Linked DNA regions of Homo sapiens: regions 1, 2, 3, 5, 6 and 7 are each linked to region 4. Evidence: promoter capture Hi-C in 16 types of primary human blood cells and fetal thymus (Javierre and others, 2016). All regions are on one chromosome and are shown on one strand. The core of a region is centred on a gene start or on the middle of the fragment in contact, and the rest is flanking DNA. Distances in the headings are between cores, read along the strand shown. Region 1 overlaps TTLL4 (tubulin tyrosine ligase like 4). Region 2 overlaps ZNF142 (zinc finger protein 142). Region 3 overlaps STK36 (serine/threonine kinase 36). Region 4 holds the start of ARPC2 (actin related protein 2/3 complex subunit 2). Region 5 overlaps RNF25 (ring finger protein 25). Region 6 overlaps USP37 (ubiquitin specific peptidase 37). Region 7 overlaps CNOT9 (CCR4-NOT transcription complex subunit 9).

Region 1 (2,734 bases), core at 110-2,609, 500 kb before region 4:
AGGAACCAGGGGCACACCCCAATTATGTATTTCTTTCTTTTTTTTTTTTTTTTTGAGACCGGAGTCTCACTGTGTTGCCCAGGCTGGAGTGCAATGGTACGATCTCGGCTCGCTGCAACCTCTGCCTCCCGCGTTCATGCAATTCTCCCGCCTCAGCCTCCCGAATAGCCGGGATTACAGGCACCCGCCATCGTGCCCGGATAATTTTTGTATTTTTGTAGAGACAGGGTTTCACCATGCTGACCAGGCTGGAGTATTTCTTATTATATCACAATATCACATCAGCAAAGCCACGAGTTGGACCTATTCATATGAAAAAGGCGTTCCCCTCTTACCACCATCTCCTTGTTGCTATTTTTTACTCAGTGCGTGCACTCTGCCACAGCTGTACCCAACCCCTTCAATAGTGTCTTTCCTCCTCCTGAGGCCAATCCAAAATCCTCCAGTTCTTTCATCCTCCCCCACATCAAATCAATCTCTCTCACAATGTCAACTATTATCTGCAGAAGAGTCATTTTGCAGATTTGTCGTCTCAAGTTTCATGTCTGCATCACCAACTGCCTGTTCCACCTTTCCAAATGCATGTCCAACCACTTCAATCTAGTGTGTCAAACTAGCTCTCCACTCCTGATCGTCCCATTTCCTTGAGTGGACCCTTCTTTCTCCAAATCACCTAAGAGGAAAACTAAGTTATTTCTGACTTTTTCCTTTACTTTATTTCCCCAAAGGGAAACCAGTCATGAAATTTAAGACACTCTGTCTACTTAGCATTCTTCCTCCTTTTATTATTTCCACCATGCCCCTAGATCTGGACTTACTGCAACAGCACTGACTGAAGCATGTGTCTCCAAGGTGTGCCCTTCCTAATTCCACCCTGCAGGCAACCTCCAGATTAATTTTGCTGTATTGCTTCATCAGGTCAATCCCTTTTCAAAAACGGTCCATGAGCACTTACTAAACACTGTGGTGGCCCACCTGCATCAGAATAACCTGAGATGCAAAGTCCTGAGATTCACCTTCAAGAGGATTCAGTTGGTGTGGAGTAGGGCCATGAGTCTGCAGTTTTAACAAGCATTCCAGATGACTGTCATGTGAGATTTCTTAGCTTTGGTCCACAAGACTCCATAGTCGACCCTTAATCTTTTTTTTTTTTTTTTTAAGGCTTATTTCCATTTCCTCCTACCTTGAACTCTGTTATGTGAACTGCGCTGGTCTTACACTAAATTCCTGGAATAAACCTTTCAAATGCCTGTCTGCAGGGCTTTACTCCACTAAGCTTCTTCCTTGTGAATCCTTACCATATTTTATTTACCTTTTCCAGACCCAGCTCAAGACCCACCCTCTCCACGAGCACCTGTTGTGTGTCCCTCTCACGTGATACTTTCCCAAGGCTATCTCACACCACTGTTCACTTACCCTAGTGATATGCCCTATAAGCTTCATGATGGCTTTTATAGGAAATCTCTGGGGATCTTTAACCTCAAATACAGAGCCACGCTGGCAGAAGGGGGTGGGAAGAACCCTGGTCCAGTTTGGCCTCCTATTAGCAATATTGCCCAAGTCTCCTCCCCCAACAACTTTATGGAACACTAAGTCTTCCTAGAACAAAAGTTTTTAAAAAATTGACTTAGAAACGATGGATATGTTCAATGTGAATTATACCTCCACAAAACTGTTAAAAATAAAAATAAAACTTGAATAAAGGGGTAAGAGTGAAGAATAAAAAACTGCAGAAAGTTGTATGGATCAACAAAATGGCCTGAAACATCCCCTTCTATTTGCATGGCTGCCTCAGCCCAGTCTCCAACCCCTCTAACACCAAGTGCAGGACTGTTAAGGTAAGCAGCCTGACTGATGTCCCTGGCTCCAGACTCTCCCCTTTAAAACACCCATTCTCAGGAATCTGAACATCCTACTTTGTCATCTTCATGCAGCATTTGGAAACTGCCTATACAGTTCTGTCCTCCAATCTTTATGGGGTGATTTTGCCTCAAGTTTCCTCCTTAAAGGAGTGTGAATGATTAGTAGCCTATGTTAGAAAATCTATTGCTGGCCGGGCGCAGTGGTTCATGCCTGAAATCCCAGTACTTTGGGAGGCCGAGGTGGGCAGATCACCTGAGGTCGAGAGTTCGAAACCAGCCTGAGCAACATGGAGAAACCCCATTTCTACTAAAAATACAAAACTAGCCAGGCATGGTGGTGCATGCCTGTAATCCCAGCTACTTGGGAGGTGGAGGCAGGAGAATCGCTTGAACCTGGGAGGCAGAGGTTGCGGTGAGCCGAGATTGCGCCATTGCACTCCAGCCTGGGCAACAAGAGTGAAACTGCGTCTCAAAAGAAAAAAAAAAAAGAAAAGAAAATCTATTGCTGCTGTCGCAAACCAACAAGTCTCCAGGGACCAGGCCCAGACCAACTTGGACAAGGTATCTATTTCTAGAGAAAGCAATTATTCATTACCCACTAATTAAATCACTCTCCTACAAGAGAGTGTGGCTCTTGGGAAATGCAGTTTCCCTTTCCTCCTTCAACTAGGTGTTTCCCTCGGTCACCAGGGAAACTCAGGACATCAGAAATGGTTCAGTCTACAGTCCACAAGATCTCTGATGAGATTACCTCAACTGCTCAACAGTTATGTTAGAAGATAGAACTGACAGGCTCACGCCTGTAATCCCAACACTTTGGGAGGCTGAGGCAGGTGGATCACGAGGTCAGGAGATCAAAACCATCCTGGTTA
Region 2 (3,022 bases), core at 39-2,538, 430 kb before region 4:
TACAGGCGTGAGCCACTGCACCTGGCCCTGAAATTTTTTTTTTTAACAACAAAAAAAACAATAAAGAGCAAACAGACCAGCAGAATAAATGTAGGACAAACCTGGCCTTGAGTCATGGCTCTACCACTAATAAACATAGTAGTCTTAATCTCGTAGAATCTCAGGACCTTGTTGTCATAGGGCTGTTGGAGGACCAAATGAGAGCGTTTATTAAGCCTTTCTTTATCAAAGTCTTGCCCATTGCTTTTAAAACGGCAGCAATTATTATGGAGAATAATAATTATTTTCAGAAGGATATTCTCCATTTTATCCATTCCTGTGCCTTTGTAAAGCTCTTTACAGAATTTGAAAGTAAAGCTCTTAACCATTTATATTGCAGATATTATCCCTAGTTTGTCATTTTCTTTTGGAAGTTTCTGGTTTTCACTTGGGCAAAATATACTGTCTTAATGCTTTCTGGATTTGCTTGCTTGTTCACTCATTTAACAAATATTTATTAAGCACCTATCTTGTGCCAAGTATTGTGCTAGGAATCCAAACACACGTGCCAGATAGATGGTCCCTGACCTTATGGGGCCTACAGTCCAGGTGTAGGACCAGACTTAAAGTCCATCTGTACTCTACGAATATTAAAAGATTCACCTACATTTTCTACTAGTAACTAACTCCTATGAGTCTTGTTCCATCTGATTCTATGCCTTTCTCTGTCGGTCCTCTGCCTGCAGGTGTCCTGGTAAAGGTGGTGGAGGTGTACTTCTGTGAGCGCTGTGAACAGAGCTTCGCAGAGCCCACTCTGCTGGCCCTGCACCAGTGCAGTGAGACCCATATACAGCCTGTGCAGGGCCTCTCTAGCCCCCCATGCTCTGTAGAGCTGCCTCCCAGCAACCCAACCCTCCCTGGCCCTCTGCAGGGCCAGAGCCCGCCAGTTAGCCCCCTATCATGCCCTGTGTGTAGACAGGAGTTTGCCCAACCCCAGGCCCTGAAGAGCCACTTCAAGATTCACCGGGGCACTCCTGACACCTTCTCCTGCCCAGAATCTGGCTGTGTGTTCTCTGCTGAAGATCGCAAGGGTCTGCAGCACCACCTGAGGCAGACTCACAGAGCAGTTCCTGTGCCCTGTTCTTTCCGGGGCTGCCCCCTGCTTTTCGGGAGCCAGCAGGGCATGGAGCTGCACCGGCAGGCGCATTACCCTTTCCACTGCAGCCACTGCAGCTTCATAGGCTCCAACGTCAAACTCTTCCGGCAGCATCAGCGGAGCCATGGTGCTGGGACACAGGGAGAACTTTCTGCCGTTCAGGGCCTTCCATCCCAGGAGCTGCTGCCAGGTATGAGGCCAAGGGCCAAGCAGTTCCTCTCCTGGAGTTCAGCCACAGTTGATCTTATAGGAGAGGCAGTTGTTTCCAAGGCCATGAATGTACATGAATATAAGAGAATCTAGACAGTGGCTCAGGAGGATGGAGTTACTGGATGACATGGGAAGGCATCTTGAAACAGTTGGAATATATGGGACAAAGAGGAAGTCTTTGTTTGTGACAATGAGTGAAAGTTGGCTTAGGCTACGTGTGGCCTGAAGTTACTTAACCAATATTCTCTAATGATCCATTTCACAACTTTCTGAGAGCTAAAGTGAAAATGACCATCATTGGCTATGGCCACTGATAGAATGCCTGTAGACTTTCCTTTAGAGCAACTGGGGATTGGGCAGTAGAAGCCAGGGTTATTTTAAAAAGGAAATAACCCTTTGGGCTGGGCACTGTGGCACATGCCTGTGATCCCAACAATTTGAGAGGCCAAGGTGGATGGATCCCTTGAGCCCAGGAGTTCAAGACCAGCCTGGGCAATGTGGTGAAATGCTGTCTCTACAAAAAATACAAAAATTGGGTGTGGTGGTACATGTCTGTAGTCCCAGTTACTCGGGAGGTTGAGGTGGGGGATCACTTGAGCTCAGGAGGTGGAGGTTGCAGTGAGCCAAGATTGCAGCACTGCACTTCAGTCTGGATGACAGAGTAAGACCCTGTCTCAAAAAAAAAAAAAAAAAGAAGTAAAGAAAGGAACTTAGGAACTTTCAAGGGAGACGGCGTTTTAGTAGTTGTCATTCTTCTTGGTCCCAAAAAAGCATGAGAGAGCAGAGGAGCAGGAGGAAACAGAGAAAACGGGCCAGGAGAGGCCAGAATTCTGATAAGAGAAGGAATTGCAGTCTACCCATTCTCTACTTTCAGCCCCCTATGACCTCAATGACCTCGCTGCTGTCAGCTTCATGGAGTCTGAAAGTGGTGCTCTCTGAGGTTTGAGTTACTTTAGACTGGAACATTGCTAATAACTTAGCTCTTCGTCCTCCTATTTTCATCTTGAGTGGAAATACATTTATACATAAAACCCAAGATCTCCTTATGCTAAAAGTGGGAGAGGGTGATTATTTCAGCCAGTAGGTAGAGAAGTATAAGCATTTAGTGCTGTTATTGGCTCCTGTAGACTTTATCAAGTTTTATGTATCTCCAGCTCCCAAACTGCCTCCAGGAGAGAGAGAACCTTCACAGGAAGCAGGTACACCCTTGCCTGGGCAGGAGACAGCTGAAGAGGAGAATGTAGAGAAAGAAGAGAAGAGTGACACCCAGAAGGACTCCCAAAAGGCTGTGGATAAAGGCCAAGGGGCTCAGCGGCTGGAAGGTAATGACATTCTGAGGCTTGAAGCCCTTGGTGGTGGGGAAGAATGGATTGTTGAAACCCTGCCATTGAGGCTCTGGGGTTTGTTTTCTGAGCTTTGGTTCGGATCCTTTTATTCTGTTCTACCTTGACTCAAAAGTCAAGGTCTAGTGGGAAAATGATAAATGAGTGAATGGTAAAGACTTTAGTAATATAGCATTGGGGTAAATCGAGTTTGCTTCACTGGGCTGGTTTTCCTCAGGCAGAAAACTCTAGCAGGGAAGCAGGAGGTGATCTTCATCATATAGAGATGCCAGAAGTTATTGATGATCAGCAGCCTATTTTGTCTGGCACTGAGCCCTCAAATACTTTTTTCTGA
Region 3 (2,884 bases), core at 22-2,521, 490 kb before region 4:
TAACTGCTTATCCTACTTCGCATTCTCCCCTACTCCCCATAGCCATTCACAAGACCAGAATGAAGAATGATCCGTTTAGGATGCAAGGTAGTTCATAAAATTCTCTGTTCAAAAGCCTGCAATAGATGCCTCCTTCATTCAAAGTAAGAGCCCAAGTCTTCACCAAGGTCTACAAAGCCTACAATATCTGGCCCCCACCATTACCTTCCTGTCTCATTTCCTACTATTCTCCACCTTCTTTACTCACTTAATCCATACTGGTTCCTCATAGCTCCTCAAGCATGCCAGGCATGCTTTCATCTCAGGGCCTTGGCTTTTCCCCAAAATAGGTGCACAACTCACTCCCTCGCCTCCTTCGAGTCTTTTCTCAAGTGTCACCTTCTAGTGAGGCCTACCCTGACCATCCGACTCAGCACTCCTCATCTCCTTTCCCTGGTTTCTTTTTCTCCATAGCTTTTACCACCTTCCTACATACTATTCTTTTAATAATTTCACTATCTCCCCGACCAGAATGGAAACTCTATGATGGGCACTGTTTTATCTCCTGTACCTAGAATAGTATCTGGCATACAGAAAGGACTCAAAAAATATACATTGAACTGAATTGAGATAATCTGGATAGAAGAAAATTATGGTGCTCCCTAGAAAAATATTATTTTTGCTAAAGTATAAACACTGTGGACAATGAAGATGAGGGTTAAACAAAATTTCTTATAAAAATAAGGGCACTTTACTTGTCTTTCATTTCTAAAACAACTGGAATTTAAGGAAGGACAGAAAGGAGTCTCCTCATTTTATGGATGGAGAAATCAAGGCCCTGGAAGCTTGTTCTAAGCCATCCAATGAGTTAAGGTTTTCCAATGCTTCCAGTTAGATTATAATTCTAACAGGTCTGACTAAAAGCCCTTTCTGGTAAATTGTACAATCTTTAAAATAGCTATCCTTCTACAGCAGCTTGGAGTCCCTACACATTAGAACTCCACTAAATATTAAAATTAGTCACTAAGTCTGAGCAACCTAATTGACCGCTCTGTTGAATCTTACCCTTTCCTATTTCAGCTCCACCGGCCTTGACTTGAAAGTAGGTAACCAAATATAGTTCATCTAGGAAGGGGGAAATTGGTAAAGGCAAGAAATGATATAAATAAGCTGCCAGACCAGGATCTTGTGTGAACACGATACCAGCACCTCCAACACCACATAGAAGCTGAAAGAGGGGTTGAGCCTCTCAACCCTTGTCCTGGGAGCTTCAAGTATGGTGAGGCACAACTTTTATTAAAAGAGTTTACAAACAGAACTATTAAACACACACACACATACACACACACATATACACACACACCCCAAAAAAAGATACACTCTCCACGCCCACCCACAGATAGGAATGTTGGCTAAGGGATAATCCCTCAATAACAGGGACTGATGGCATTGATCCCCACAGCCTAGAGCTGAGACAGGCTCTGTCTTCATCACTGTCCTGGGGCCAGCACGTCTAAGGCAAAAACCTGCTGGGAAGATTAAAGGAGCTCCAGAAAGGAAGAGATCTTTCAGGTTGAGGTTTTTCCCTAAGGTCCGTGAGGCAGGTCCCTAGAGTTAAAGGCACATTATTGGAGAAAAGGCCCCTGGATGTAGAGAAGAAAGGACTCTTCTCTGGCACCAACAGCAATAAAATTTACTGGTTGAAAACATCCTGCATCTGGGAGAAGGAAGAAGCTTTATATATAAATCTCTTCTAGTTTCTTGTTCTCAGTTGAGTTGGCAGCTTATCTCTTTTCTAGTCTCTTTAGCTCTCAGTTGAGTTGGCGGCTTGTGTAGTAGAATAAGAAAGAGCTGGCAACCAAAGTTGGAGGCTGGACCGCAGGAATCTGGAATCACATGCTATGGGCTGGCCTCAGGAGGTGAATGAGTTTCCTGCAGTGTTTGGCAGAGGCAGGCCTAGGACTGCTGTGTGGCAGTGACTGATTCCCCAGAGAGAGCAAGGATAGTTTCTCACTGGCACCCAGGGACACCAGTACCTGTAGGATAGAGAACAGATGATAGAACAGAACATGAGGCTCAGAAATGGTGGTGTCTGGGGCAGGTGCGGAGGACTCTCATTTACCCAGGAATTCCCACTCGAGAAGAGGAAGAAAAAGGAAATGGGCTCTTGGGGACTTGGAATAGACTGAATGGCAGAAGAGAAACCTTGGAGATAGGAATCATCAGGACCAGAAGTCTACTTCCATTCTCTTTGGTTATAGACCATGAAACCAAGGCACTAAGGGACACATATACTTGTCCCCAGGAAGACTTGATGAATGCAGCAGTAACTCACAGTAAGCCAAAAGGTCTAATTCCTAGCCTTCAATGCAGACCAGTGAGTTCTAACCTCATTACCACCAAGAATCCCATTAATTATTTTCCCCATGGATTGCACAAGATTCCTATAGGATCTTCACCATCGGCCAGGCAAGGTGGCTCATGCCTGTAATCCCGTACTTTGGGAGGCCAAGGCGGGCGGGTCACGAGGTCAGGACATCGAGACCATCCTGGCTATCACGGTGAAACCCCGTCTCTACTAAAAAAAAAAAAAATACAAAAAATTAGCTGGGTGTGGCGGCAGGTGCCTGTAGTCCCAGCTACTCGGGAGGCTGAGGCAGAATGGCGTGAACCCGGGAGGCAGAGCTTGCAGTGAGCCAAGATCGCGCCACTGCACTCCAGCCTGGGGGCGACAAAGTGAGACTCCGTCTCAAAAAAAAAAAAAAGATCTTCACCATCCTCTCAAATTTCTGCTCTGCATGAACTTCCCAATGCTACCACTTTGAGATGTCATAATTTATATTACCATATGTAGATATCTGTGATTTCCAATGGGCTTTTTTTTTTTTTTGAGACAGAGTCTCGC
Region 4 (2,893 bases), core at 224-2,723:
GCAAGCACTTTCCTATTACTAGTTCCCAGTTCACCAGAAACGGTCTGCACTTATTAACTGTGAAACCCAGATGTGAAGCCCCATGCTCATACATAGGGAAATGAGGCAAAGGGACTGGCCACAGGCCACCAAAAATTAGAACCCAAAATCCTTAGCTCATGTTTTAAATATTATACTAGAAAAGCAAAGCAGCTTTGGAGGAGCAGATTGTCTTCTACTGATTCTTGTGTTTGGCAGAGAGGCTGCCTTGGAAAGATGCCCTAAGCCCATCTTTTAAAAAGTCCAATCGTAAAGACAGGTTATCTAAGAACTTTATAGATTCTGGAGTCTTTGAAGTGTGTAACTGGGCCAGGGCTACCACAGAAGAAATCACAGACCTAGGGTCTTGATGTAAGAATTTACAAGATAACCAGATAAAGGCTAGTGGGTGAGGAGAGAGCATTAGAACCTCAAAGGAGAGATAAGGAAGGGGTGTGGAGCGAGGGACAATTGGCTTTGCTTTAAAAATATGTAACAAAATGGCCCAGTGTCTCTCACAGAAGGGTTCGGGGAAGGGAAACCAGAGATCGCGTTTTTCCGGCTCTAAGACTGGGTCGGCTTTTAGTCTTCTCTTCTGCTCCTTTTAAAGGAGATGGGGGTGGGGAACGAGAATGCTGGTGGCGATGTGGGCCTGCATCTCCTTCCCTCCTCCAGTCCTGGGAATTCCTGAAAACTCCTTCCAACCCAATTCCAAACAGGCTCTCTCTGGGTTCAGAACAATGCCGGGGAATTTCACGCAGGGAAGGGGTCCCCTTCTCGCCCCAGAGGGCAGGGGGCTACTCCGGAGCGAGTTCCGGCTCCAGGGTCCCCCACGTCCCACAGGTCTCCTGCCCTTTGGCACGCACAGCCCTCACCACTCGCTGCTTCCGCATCCCTCCTCTGAGCCTCTCCCCACGCATCTCTGCCCCTCGCCCGGCCGCGCCCAATCGCCTCCCACGTCTACCCCGCTGGGGCAGCCCCTACACCCTGCCAGGCACCCCATTTCTCTCCTCCAGGTCTGGGGGACTGGACAACATTGGGGATTAGCTGGGGTCAACTCTGCTTCCCCCGCCACCCCCGGCCCCGGGCGCGCGCTCACCCGGCGGCCGCGTTCTCGAACTTGAGCGCGAGCGTCTCCTCGATGATGCGGTTGTTCACCTCCAGCAGGATCATGGCGGCGGCTGCCCCCAGGGGAAGGAGAAACAAGGGCCGGTGAGGGTGGGTAAGGGAGGCAAGGACGGAGGGAGCGGCCCTGCTGCCCCCTGAGTGGGGCTGGGTGGGGTAGGAGGTTAGGGGAGAAGGGGAGAGGGGCCGGGGTGGAGGGAAGGGTAAGACGAACGCGCTGGCCCACGCACGCAGACTGTGGAGACACCCACCCACCCAACCGACCTGGCCCCCGAAGCCTGAACCCGCCTGCCGAGCCGCCGCCGCCGCCGCCACTGCCGCTTCACCGACAAGCCCGGTCCCCGCCCAGCCCCCGGCTCTAGCCGGCCACTTCCGCTCTCACACCCACTTCCGCTCGCCGCCTGGACGCGCGGCCCCGCGGCGCCATTTCCGCTTCAACCACTCGTGAACGCGAGCGCAGGCGCGCCGGAGGAAACGGAGGCTGCGCTTGCGTATGTGTGATGCCGCCGCCCCACCGTCTACTTTCCCACCGACCCCGCTTACGTCTACCGCCTACCAGTGCGTCCCCCGCGGAGCTGTCATTCCCCGAGGCTTGCCTGACTGTTCAGCTTCTCTCTCCCGCTTGTCCCAGAGATCCAACTCCATTCTTCCGGTCTTGTCATTTCAGAAACCTCGCAAGAAGCTCGCCCTTGTCGTCTCCCAGCGGGCTTCTTAGCTCCCAGCTTGTTTGATGGGGGTGCCTCTTTTTCTTTCCAGGTATAGCTGTCCAGCGACACCATCATGCATTCATTTCTCCAACAAACATTTTCATGGGCTCTTGCTCTATACTGGGGATGTAGTGGTAAATGAAATGGACGAGGCCCTGCCCTCGTGGAACTTACAGTCTGGCAAAGGAAACAGACAATAAAATTCTCAGTTGTCTAAGGAGGCAGAGATGCATGGGGAGAGGATCAGAGTAGGGATGCGGAAGCAGCGAGTGGTCAGGAGTGTGCGTGCCAAAAGGCAGGAGACCTGTGGGACGTGGGGGCAGCTGGGGCCGGAACTTGCGCTGGAGGAACACCCCTTGCCTGCTGGGGCGAGAAGAGGACCCTTTCCTTGGGTGAAATTCCCCATATTGTTAAAAGGACAATTAAAGAAATGAAAGAGAGGTCACCTGGGTGAATAGGCAACTTAGATGGGCCTCCCTGTGTTCCTGTCATGCCTCCAATTCTGCGTCCAGGTGTCCGGAACACATTTTTTTCTGCCTTTGAAACCTTCCAGTACCTCTGGCAGAGATATACCATACCCTCCTTGTTACCTGCGTGCGGAATCTTAACTCATCGTTGTGCTACATCTGCACCTTCTGCCTTTGTGCCTTGTTTTGTGTTTTCCCTCCTCCGGGGAGAATATAATAAACTTAGCTGAGTCCGTTCTACATACAAGGAAATAATTTATTTTCTGCTATGTGTTTGGGGATGGGGATAAAAAAATGAACAAGAAACTAGCTCCTATCATTAAGGCACAGATAGCCCTTTGAAACATTACTTAACGGGCTATGGATAAGCTTCAGGATATTGCTGATCCCCTAAAATTATACGCTAACTTAAATTTTTTTTTTTTTGAGACAGAGTCTTGCACTCTTGCCCAGGCTGGAGTGCAATGGCATGATCTCGGCTCACTGCAACCTCTGCCTCCCCGGTTCAAGCGATTCTCCTGCCTCAGCCTCCCAAATAGCTGGGATTAAAGGTGCCTGCCACCATGCCCTTTTAAT
Region 5 (2,816 bases), core at 5-2,504, 450 kb before region 4:
AATTATGAATAGAAATCCATATCTGTCTGACTCCACACCTTAGATTCTTTGTACTAGGACATTCTTCAGTCCCCACTCCCCCAATTTTTTTTTTTTTTTTTTTTTTTTTTGAGACGGAGTCTTGCTCTGTCGCCCAGGCTGGAGTGCAGTGGCGCAATCTCGGTTCACTGCAAGCTCCGCCTCCCGGGTTCATGCCATTCTCCTGCCTCAGCCTCCCGAGTAGCTGGGACTACAGGCGCCCGCCACCACACCCAGCTAATTTTTTGTGATTTTTAGTAGAGACGGGGTTTCACCCTGTTAGCCAGGATGGTCTCTATCTCCTGACTTCATGATCCACCCGCCTCAGCCTCCCAAAGTGCTGGGATTACAGGCCTGAGCCACCGCGCCCGGCCCCCCTCCCCCATTTTGTTGTCACCACCTTACCACCATCCCATCCAGGACCCATATAACTAGGGTGGGCGAAGTATTGAAGGGCCACTTGACTGAGGCTACACCTCAATGTTACATTGGTTCAGGGAGCCCAGCTAGTACTGGCCGTTATTAAGAGTATCTAGACTACTGGTTTTCAAAGTGTTCAGGGAAACTTCTTTTTTTTTTTTTTTTTTAAGAGACAGAGTCTTACTTTGTCACCCAGGCTGGAGTACAGTGGCAAGATCATGGCTCACTACAGCCTCGACCTCCTGGGCTCCCGTGATTCTTCTGCCTCAGTCTCCCAAGTAGCTGGGACCACCGTGTCCAGTTAATTTTTTATTTTTTGTAGAGATAGTGTCTCGCTTTGTTGCCCAGGCTGGTCTCGAACTCCTGGCCTCAAGTGATCCTCCCACCTCAGCCTCCCAAAGCGCTGGGATAACTTACAGTTTACCTGTTCAGGGGAACTTTTAAGATTCAGGGGAGACACCTTGAGCCATGGAGACAGCAACAATGAGTGCAGCAGCCTGTAGTACTGTGAGACTCCCACTCCCATGTCAGCCAGAACTACACTGTTATCTGTGAGGTGTGAAGCTTTATATTTTATATTTTGAAGTTTCTGCCTAAGACTTAACAACACTGACATAGGTCGTGCTGGGGCAGCCTTACTCTTAGAATGAAGAGGGAGCAGTGTGAGAAAGCAAAGTGTGCATTTTTCCATGTATCACTTGGTAGAGCTGTAGACACAAACTGATCACTCAGCTTCAATTTCATTACAACTGCTGTTTCTATGCTTAAGTATGTGTGTCCCTTGATTTACATCAGAACCATGGATCCTAACCTCAACAGGCTGATCTAGATCAACCAGACAGCCAGGTCATAAATACATCCAGAGTACTCTATTACCTCCTTCCTTCCCTCTTTCCTTCTAAGGGAGAAGGTTATATACAGACAGGAAAAAAAGAGGACGTAGACTAGCTACGATAGCCCAGATACTATTAGGTACTTTATGTAAACAAATCACCTTTTATCCTCACAATAACCCTAGAGAGTAGGTGTTATTATCTATATGTGACAGACAGGATAACTTAAGCTTACAGAGAGGTCACGTCCCAGATTGCATAGCTTGTAAGTGATTGGTACCTGTTAACTAACTCCGAGGCTGCTGGCTCTTCCATTACAACACAGCCTTTATACCACCCTAAATATGTTGTGTTGAGGTTGCTATCTCCTTTAAGAAGGCTTAGGGTGACTGGTGTTAAAACTGTATGTAGACAGTAGCCAAGGCACTGGGATCCACACTGGACAGTGACGTAGGGAAAGGTTGGAGTAATATTGGTAACGTTAATGCTAATGAATGAGTGCCATATCTCTAGACCAGAGATTCAGCCACTAAGGGGAATGAAACTTAAACAGGGAGTCAGGAAACCTGGCTCTGGGCCTAGTTCTACCTATGTTAAGCCTTGGTTAGTCATTTTACTTCTCTAGAATCCACTTCTTCATCTGTTGGCAGAAATGATGCCTAAAATTCTGATTTCCATGCCTTCTATTTGGCCAGTTGACAACTTAAGGTAACATATTCCTTGTTTTTAAGGAGTTTAGCAGGAGAATGCATTCTGGTAGATTGCCATTTTTCTACAAAGCCTGCCTTTATTGGCCTTAGCAGGCTTCCACAGGGAGAGCTGTAATGGTAAGTTAGTCTACTCCTGTCTCTCTAGGGTCCTTCCCTCTGAAGTTGAAGTATTGGAGTCCATCTATCTAGATGAACTACAGGTGATTAAAGGAAATGGCAGGTATGTATTCAACCAGTGGTGGGCAGGAGTCCCCCTAGTAATGAGGAGAGGTTCTATGCTGAATTTGGGTCTTAAGACATTGTGAGCCTTGATTCAGAGATAATATTTCTCTTGTGTAGACAAAAGCTATTCCTTTAATCCTACCCCAAAAGAAAGAGTCCAATGTGTACTTCCTTTGCCCACTTCACTGTCTCAGCCCCATCCTCCCCAGCCCCCAAGCCCCTACCCAGTCACATCTGCGTGTCCACTTGATCCACCTGCAGAACTTCACCATGGGAGATCTACATCACTTTGCATCCTGCCACTGCAGAGGACCAGGATTCACAGTATGTCTGCTTCACTCTGGTGCTTCAGGTCCCAGCAGAGGTGAAGCCCCTACTGTGTGGCAGCAAAGGGAGGAAGGGGAGAGTCCCTGGGGTGGACCGCTTCAGCAGTAACTTGTTATTTGCCCCCACTAGTATCCCCATGAGGTGCCACAGATCTCTATCCGAAATCCCCGAGGACTTTCAGATGAACAGATCCACACGTAAGTTGAACCTGTCAGAACAGGGAAAACTCAGCTACAGCTTTGCCCGGTGACAGAAATGGGCAGGTCTAATATTTGGTTTGCCCTCT
Region 6 (2,855 bases), core at 217-2,716, 310 kb before region 4:
ACGTGCCTCCCTGACTGGGCTTAATTATTGCTAGATTTTTATTTAAAAGGAGATGTGCATCTCTTCTTTTCACTTAAAAACACAGAGGTCATTGTAGGGTTATTAATTATCCTAATTTCAATATATTGTCTCAGGGAATAGGGAGGCCCAAGAAGAGAGACAGAGATGGGGTAATAATGACAATTTGGTGGAGCAGTCAGATAAATTGAGTTTGCCGTCTTATATGGGTGCAGTTCGTGGTACCCCAAAACAGTGACAACAGTAACATCAAAGATCACTGATCGCAGATCACTGTAATAGATATAATTAAAAAGTTTGAAACATTGCAAGAATTACCAAAATGTGACATAGACATGAAGTGAGCGAGCGTATACTGTTGGGAAAATGGCACTGATAGACTTGCTTGGTGCAGGGTTGCCACAGCCTTCCATTTGTTTAAAAAAAAACATACAAAAAAACCTGCAATATCTGTGAGGCACAATAAAGCAAAGAGCAATAAAATGAGGTATTCCTGTATTTGATGAGAAGGAAAAAGAGTTAAATATAATCAGGACTAATGTATACTTTTATTATTAAATGAACTTGAATGGTTGATTTAGGAATTAAGTTTTTCCTTTGTTCATTTGTTTTATAGGGCTTTTACCTTTACAGTCATCATCCTTTTATGGTAGCAGAGCTGGATCCAAGGAACACTCTTCTGGTGGCACTAACTTAGACAGGTATGCATTGGTTATATTACTTGTGAAAAACTTAGGAGTTCTTTTTTTTTCAGAATATTGAATGATTGGATAGGTTATGTATTATCCTCTTAAGTGAATATGATAATTTAACAAAATTGACGAGACTCATAGAATCCTGACATGTTAGTTAGAAAGTATTCTAGAAATGAGCTGAGCACAGTGGCTCACACCTGTAATCCCAGCACTTTGAGAGGCTGAGGTGGAAGGATCACTTGAGCCTTGGAGATCAAGGCTGCAATGAGCCATAATTATGCCACTGTACTCCAGCTTGAGCAACAGAACGAGACCCTGTCTCAAAAAAAAAGAGACAAGATCTCACTGTGTTGCCCAGCCTGGTCTCAAATTTCCTGACTTGAAACGATCCTCCCACCTCAGCCTTCCAAAGTGCTAGGGTTATAAGTGTTGAACCACTGCTCCTGCTCCTGGCCTCTACAGAATTTTTTTTTTTTTTTTTTTTGTTTGAGACCAAGTCTCGCCCTGTCACCCAGGCTGGATAGAGTACAGTGGTGCTATCTTGGCTCACTGCAGCCTTGCCTCAGCCTCCCACATAGCTGGGATTACAGGTGCCTGTCAGCACACCACGCTAATTTTTGTAGAGACAGGATTTTAGCATATTGACCAGGCTGATCTCAAACTCCTGACCTCAAGTGATCTGCCTTTCTTGGCCTCCCAAAGTGTTGGGATTATAGGCGTGAGCCATCGCATCCGACCACTCTACAGAAAATTTTTTAAAAATTAGCTGGGCATGGTGCCGTGTGCCTGTAGTGATAGCTACTTAGGAGGCTGAGTTGGGAGGTGCTCTTAAACCTGGCTCTGGGAAGTTTTGTAGTGATGCCATAGATTGCGACAGACAATATTATCAGACTGTAGACCAATATATATTCTACCATCCCATGTGGATGAACATACTAAGATCTCTCCTCTGAAGCATTTTTATTTTCCTTTTGTTGCTGTTGTATTTGTTAAGCTACATTTTAAATATTTAGGAATTTCCCTTAAAAATCAAAAGCTGTATTACAGCAGTGAATGTCTTTTATTAATAAATTGGAAAAGGCTAGTTGGATATTTAATTGCCAATTCTATAGATAAGCTCTTTTTTTTTTTTTTTTTTTTTTTTTTTTTTTTTTTTTTCAGATTTATTGGGTATAAATACATAAGATACCTGCTAAGCACTTGTTGAGAACATGTGATCATGCAGTGCAGCACAGAAGGGTTGATGGTTTTAAATGTAAAAAGTGAGGGTAATGGCAAATGCCCATCAATGATAGACAGGATAAAGAAAATGTGGCATATATATACCATGGAATACTATGCAGCCATAAAAATGGATGAGTTCATGTCCTTTGCAGAGACATGGATGAAGCTGAAAACCATCATTCTCAGCAAACTGACACAGGAACATAAAACCAAACACCACATATTCTTACTCATAAGTGGATGTTGAACAATGAGAACACATGGACACAGGGAGGGGAACATCACTCACCGGGGTCTGTCGTGGGGTGGGGGGCTAGGGGAGGGATAGCATTAAGAGAAATACCTAATGTAGATGATGGGTTGATGGGTGCAGCAAACCATGATGGCATGTGTATACCTATGTAACAAACCTGCACATTGTACACATGTATCCCAGAACTTAAAATATAATTAAAAAAAAAAAGTGAGGGTAATGGTAGTCTATAATATACATGCTATATAATGACCTATTAAGTCATATGTTTGTTTGTTTGTTTGAGATGGAGTCTCGCTGTATCGCCCAGGCTGGAGGACAGTAGGGCAATCTCGGCTGACTGCAACCTCTGCCTTCTGGGTTCGAGTGATTAGCCTGCCTCAGCCTCCCAAGTAGCTGGTATTACAGGCGCCCACCAACATGCCCAGCTCTTTTTTTGTATTTTTAGTGGAGACGGGGTTTCACTGTGTTAGCCAGGATGGTCTCGATTTCCTGACCTCATGATGTGCCTGCCTTGACCTCCCAAAGTACTGGGATTACAGGTGTGAGTGACCGCGCCCAGCCCATATTTGGTTCTTAATAGAATTTAATTCAAAGTGTTAAAAACATCTTGGTTATTTGTATAAAATGATTAAGGTAAAGAATTTGATATTATATATTTAGGT
Region 7 (3,103 bases), core at 180-2,679, 370 kb before region 4:
GTAGGTTCCGTGTAATTATCAAATTCTTAAAAACTCAGAGACCTTCTCATTTACAGAGTACCTACTATGTGCCCGGTATAACTGTTAATCAATAATGCACCAGGTTAAGGTCCCAAGTGACAAAGTTACTATGGCACAGCTGAGATCCAAGCCTCATTTGAATATCTAAGGCTCTTCTCTTTTCCATAGGCCAAGATGATTTATTCAGCTATGCCTCCTCTCTTCCAGATGAAGTAAGGCCTTTCTTTCTTTTTTCTTTTCTTTTTTTTTTTTTAGATGGAGTCTCACTCTGTCGCCCAGACTGGAGTGCAGTGGCTCCATTTCAGCTCACTGCAACCTCTGCCACCCTGGTTCAACTGATTCTCCTGCCTCAGCCTCCCGAGTAGCTAGGATTACAGGCTCCTGCCACCATGCCTGGCTAATTTTGGTATTTTTAGTAGAGACGGGGTTTCACCGTCTTGGCTAGGCTGGGCTTGAATTCCCTGACCTCGTGATCCACCTGCCTTGGCCTACCAAAGTGCTGGGATTACAAGCGTGAGCCACTGCACTCGGCTGAGATAAGGCCTTTTTTGTTCTTAAAAGATCTTGAAGAAATAAGATTTTCACGCTTCTCTTTGAAGATTATCTAACAGTAATAAAACATATCCTGGCTGTGAAGCTTATATGTGGCCTCAATTTTTCCCTCAACTTGAGCTCATTAGCTCTTACATAAAAGAGATATTAAAATATTAGTTTAATTTAAATTAGACAATCACGATAATGATACTCTTTCTTGGCTGCTCATCAAAATGAACTGTGGAATTATTTTACTATTTTATTGGGGTTATAACACTGTAGTAGGCTGAATAATGGCTCTCAAAGATATCCAGGCCCTAATCACCAAACTCTGCAAATGTTACCTTAAATGAAAAATGGGACTTTGCAGACGTGATTAAGTTAAGGATCTTGAGATGGGGGATTATCCCTGTTTATCCAAGTAGGCCTTAAATGTAATAACGAAGTGTCCTTAAAAGCGATGTAGAGAAGGCCAGGCAAAGTGACCCATGCTGGTAATCTCAGCACTCTGGGAGGCCAAGGTGGGAGGACTGCTTGAGGCCAGGAGTTCAAGGATGCAGTGAGTTATGATCATGCCACTGCACTCCAGCCTGGGCGACAGAGAAAACCCCATCTCTTAAAACAAACAAACAAACAAAACAACAACAACAACAACAACAACAAGAGAGATGTAGGGAGAGATTTTACCACAAAGGAGAAAGCAATGTGACAAGCAGAAAGAGATTTGAACATGCCACATCGCTGGATCTGAAGAGGGAGGGGGCCATAATCCAGGGAATGCAAGAAATGCAGTTCTAGAAGCTAGAAAAGGCAACAAAAAGACTCTCCTCTATATCCTCCAGAGAAAGCATGACCCTCCTGATACATTGACTTTAGATTGGTGAAACTCATTTAGAACTTGTGACTTCCAAAACTATAAAACAGTAAACTTCCATTGTTTTAAGCCACTACCCTTCTAGCTTGTGGTAATTTGTTATAGCAGCAGGTTATATAGGAACCTAATATAAACTTACACACAGTGAAGTGTGTTAAGTGCACTAATCTTAAGTGTACCTTGAATTTTTACCTATGTACACATTATGTACTATAACCAGATTAAAATACAAAATATTGTATAAAATACAGAATATTTGGGAGGTGGAGGCAGGCAGATTGCCTGAGCTTAGGAGTTCAAGACTAGCATGGGCTACATGGCGAAACTCCATCTCTACTAAAAATACAAAAAATTAGCTGGGTATGATGGTGTGTGCCTGTAGTTCCAACTACTCAGGAGGCTGAGGCATGAGAATTGCTTGAACCCAGGAGGCAGAGGTTGCAATGAGCCGAGATCACTCCACTTCACTCCAGCCTGGGTGACAGAGTGAGACTGTCTCAAAAACAAAAAACAACAACAACAAAAAAAAAAACAGAAAAAAGCAATATTTCTACCAACTCAGGATTCCAGCATTCCCTTGTACCTTTCCCCAGTCAATGTTCTTTCCTCAGAGCTAACCACGAATCCAACTTATTGCCAGTAATTGGCTTTGCTTGTTCTTAAACTTCACATAATCAACATACAGTATGAATTCCCATGTGTCTGGCTTCTTTTGCTCAACAATGCCTTTGACAGTCATCCATATATTGAATATTTAAAATAAAAAGCTTAAAAATAGCCAGGTATAGGGATGTGTGCCAGTATCAAAGCTACCTACTCCAGAGAGGGAAGTGGGAAGACTGCTTGAGCCCCGGAGTTCAAGGCTATAGTGTGCCATTATCATGGCTGTGAATAGCCACTGCATTCCAGCCTGGGCAACATAGTGAAACCTTGTCTCTTTAAAAACAATAAATTGGTCAGGCACAGTGGCTCATGCTTGTACTCCTAGTACTACGGCAGAAGGCAGGAAGATCCTTTGAGCCCAGGAGTTCAAGAGTAGCCCAGGCAACATAGGGAGACCTTGTCTTTACAAAAAATAAAAATAATTAGCTGAGTGTGGTGGAGCAGGCATGTGGTCCCAGCTACTTGTGAAGCTGAGGTGGGAGGATCAACTGAACCTAGGAGGTCGAGGCGGCAGTGAGCCATGCCTCTCTACTCCAGCCTGGGTGACAGACAGAGATCCTGTCTCTAAATAAATAAATAATTTAATTAAAAATTAAAAAACCAGTGCTCACTTAGACAGCACATGTACTAAAATTGGAACAACACAGAGAAGATTAGTGTGGCCCCTGTGCGAAGATAATACACAAATTCATGAAGCATTCCATATATATATATTTAAAAGTAAAAAGCCAAAAAAATCATTATACCTGCTTACACCCAACTCAAGAATAAAATATTTGTTAGACTAAAAAAGTAATTTAATGTGACAAGGCAAATTTTAGAGCAGAGGTTGAATACTACCCAAAATTGTCAGCAGTATGGAAAAGTAACCTTGAAAAAAATCAAATAATATGAAATTTAAAAATTGAAAGTGATTAGAGAAAAAAATATGAAAGACAGATAATAGAGCATAACTGATGTTGAACCAAGAGACTTGAACGAATAAAAGAGAAAAATATACAAATCAACAAA

Evidence for each region. The method cuts DNA at HindIII sites, captures the fragments that hold promoters and counts their contacts. A CHiCAGO score of 5 or more calls a contact.
Region 1: a fragment that was not itself captured here is called in contact with the fragment with the promoter of ARPC2 in region 4 in 3 of 17 cell types (naive B cells, fetal thymus and total CD4 T cells); the score reaches 6.9 in naive B cells.
Region 2: a contact is called between a fragment that was not itself captured here and the fragment with the promoter of ARPC2 in region 4, in 10 of 17 cell types (total B cells, fetal thymus, non-activated CD4 T cells and 7 more). The highest score is 12.6, in total B cells.
Region 3: a contact is called between a fragment that was not itself captured here and the fragment with the promoter of ARPC2 in region 4, in 6 of 17 cell types (fetal thymus, total B cells, non-activated CD4 T cells and 3 more). The highest score is 8.6, in fetal thymus.
Region 5: a contact is called between a fragment that was not itself captured here and the fragment with the promoter of ARPC2 in region 4, in 10 of 17 cell types (non-activated CD4 T cells, fetal thymus, total CD4 T cells and 7 more). The highest score is 10.0, in non-activated CD4 T cells.
Region 6: a fragment that was not itself captured here is called in contact with the fragment with the promoter of ARPC2 in region 4 in 1 of 17 cell types (neutrophils); the score reaches 5.1 in neutrophils.
Region 7: a fragment that was not itself captured here is called in contact with the fragment with the promoter of ARPC2 in region 4 in 1 of 17 cell types (non-activated CD4 T cells); the score reaches 5.1 in non-activated CD4 T cells.

The regions. Positions count from the first base shown.
Region 1 is chr2:218,717,995-218,720,728 of GRCh38, reverse strand. The region is part of intron 1 of TTLL4 (tubulin tyrosine ligase like 4); the gene reads right to left. Among named protein-coding and RNA genes, the nearest start is that of TTLL4, 8.5 kb to the right of the region's middle. RefSeq lists a silencer at 866-1,163. The HindIII fragment of the contact is 161 bases long and covers 1,279-1,439 here.
Region 2 is chr2:218,650,004-218,653,025 of GRCh38, reverse strand. It overlaps ZNF142 (zinc finger protein 142), which reads left to right. Exons shown (of 11, transcript NM_001379659.1): 5 at 726-1,325; 6 at 2,500-2,667. Among named protein-coding and RNA genes, the nearest start is that of ZNF142, 8.1 kb to the left of the region's middle. The HindIII fragment of the contact is 7,287 bases long and covers 1-3,022 here.
Region 3 is chr2:218,700,997-218,703,880 of GRCh38, reverse strand. It overlaps STK36 (serine/threonine kinase 36), which reads right to left. Exons shown (of 27, transcript NM_015690.5): 27 at 1,166-2,015. The coding sequence ends at 1,872. Among named protein-coding and RNA genes, the nearest start is that of TTLL4, 8.4 kb to the left of the region's middle. The HindIII fragment of the contact is 889 bases long and covers 827-1,715 here.
Region 4 is chr2:218,215,769-218,218,661 of GRCh38, reverse strand. It overlaps ARPC2 (actin related protein 2/3 complex subunit 2), which reads right to left and starts at 1,473. Exons shown (of 11, transcript NM_152862.3): 1 at 1,408-1,473; 2 at 1,118-1,199. The coding sequence starts at 1,191. It overlaps LOC101928487 (a long non-coding RNA gene), which reads left to right and starts at 1,476. Exons shown (of 2, transcript XR_923908.2): 1 at 1,476-1,634; 2 at 1,811-2,561. RefSeq lists a silencer at 1,290-1,339 and an enhancer at 861-1,464. The HindIII fragment of the contact is 6,430 bases long and covers 1-2,688 here.
Region 5 is chr2:218,667,990-218,670,805 of GRCh38, reverse strand. It overlaps RNF25 (ring finger protein 25), which reads left to right. Exons shown (of 10, transcript NM_022453.3): 2 at 2,127-2,201; 3 at 2,465-2,567; 4 at 2,660-2,727. Among named protein-coding and RNA genes, the nearest start is that of RNF25, 2.6 kb to the left of the region's middle. The HindIII fragment of the contact is 499 bases long and covers 1,005-1,503 here.
Region 6 is chr2:218,527,820-218,530,674 of GRCh38, reverse strand. It overlaps USP37 (ubiquitin specific peptidase 37), which reads left to right. Exons shown (of 26, transcript NM_020935.3): 10 at 635-719. Among named protein-coding and RNA genes, the nearest start is that of USP37, 39 kb to the left of the region's middle. The HindIII fragment of the contact is 9,507 bases long and covers 1-2,855 here.
Region 7 is chr2:218,588,913-218,592,015 of GRCh38, reverse strand. All of the region lies in intron 5 of CNOT9 (CCR4-NOT transcription complex subunit 9), which reads right to left. It also overlaps the pseudogene RNU6-136P. Among named protein-coding and RNA genes, the nearest start is that of PLCD4, 17 kb to the left of the region's middle. The HindIII fragment of the contact is 1,538 bases long and covers 661-2,198 here.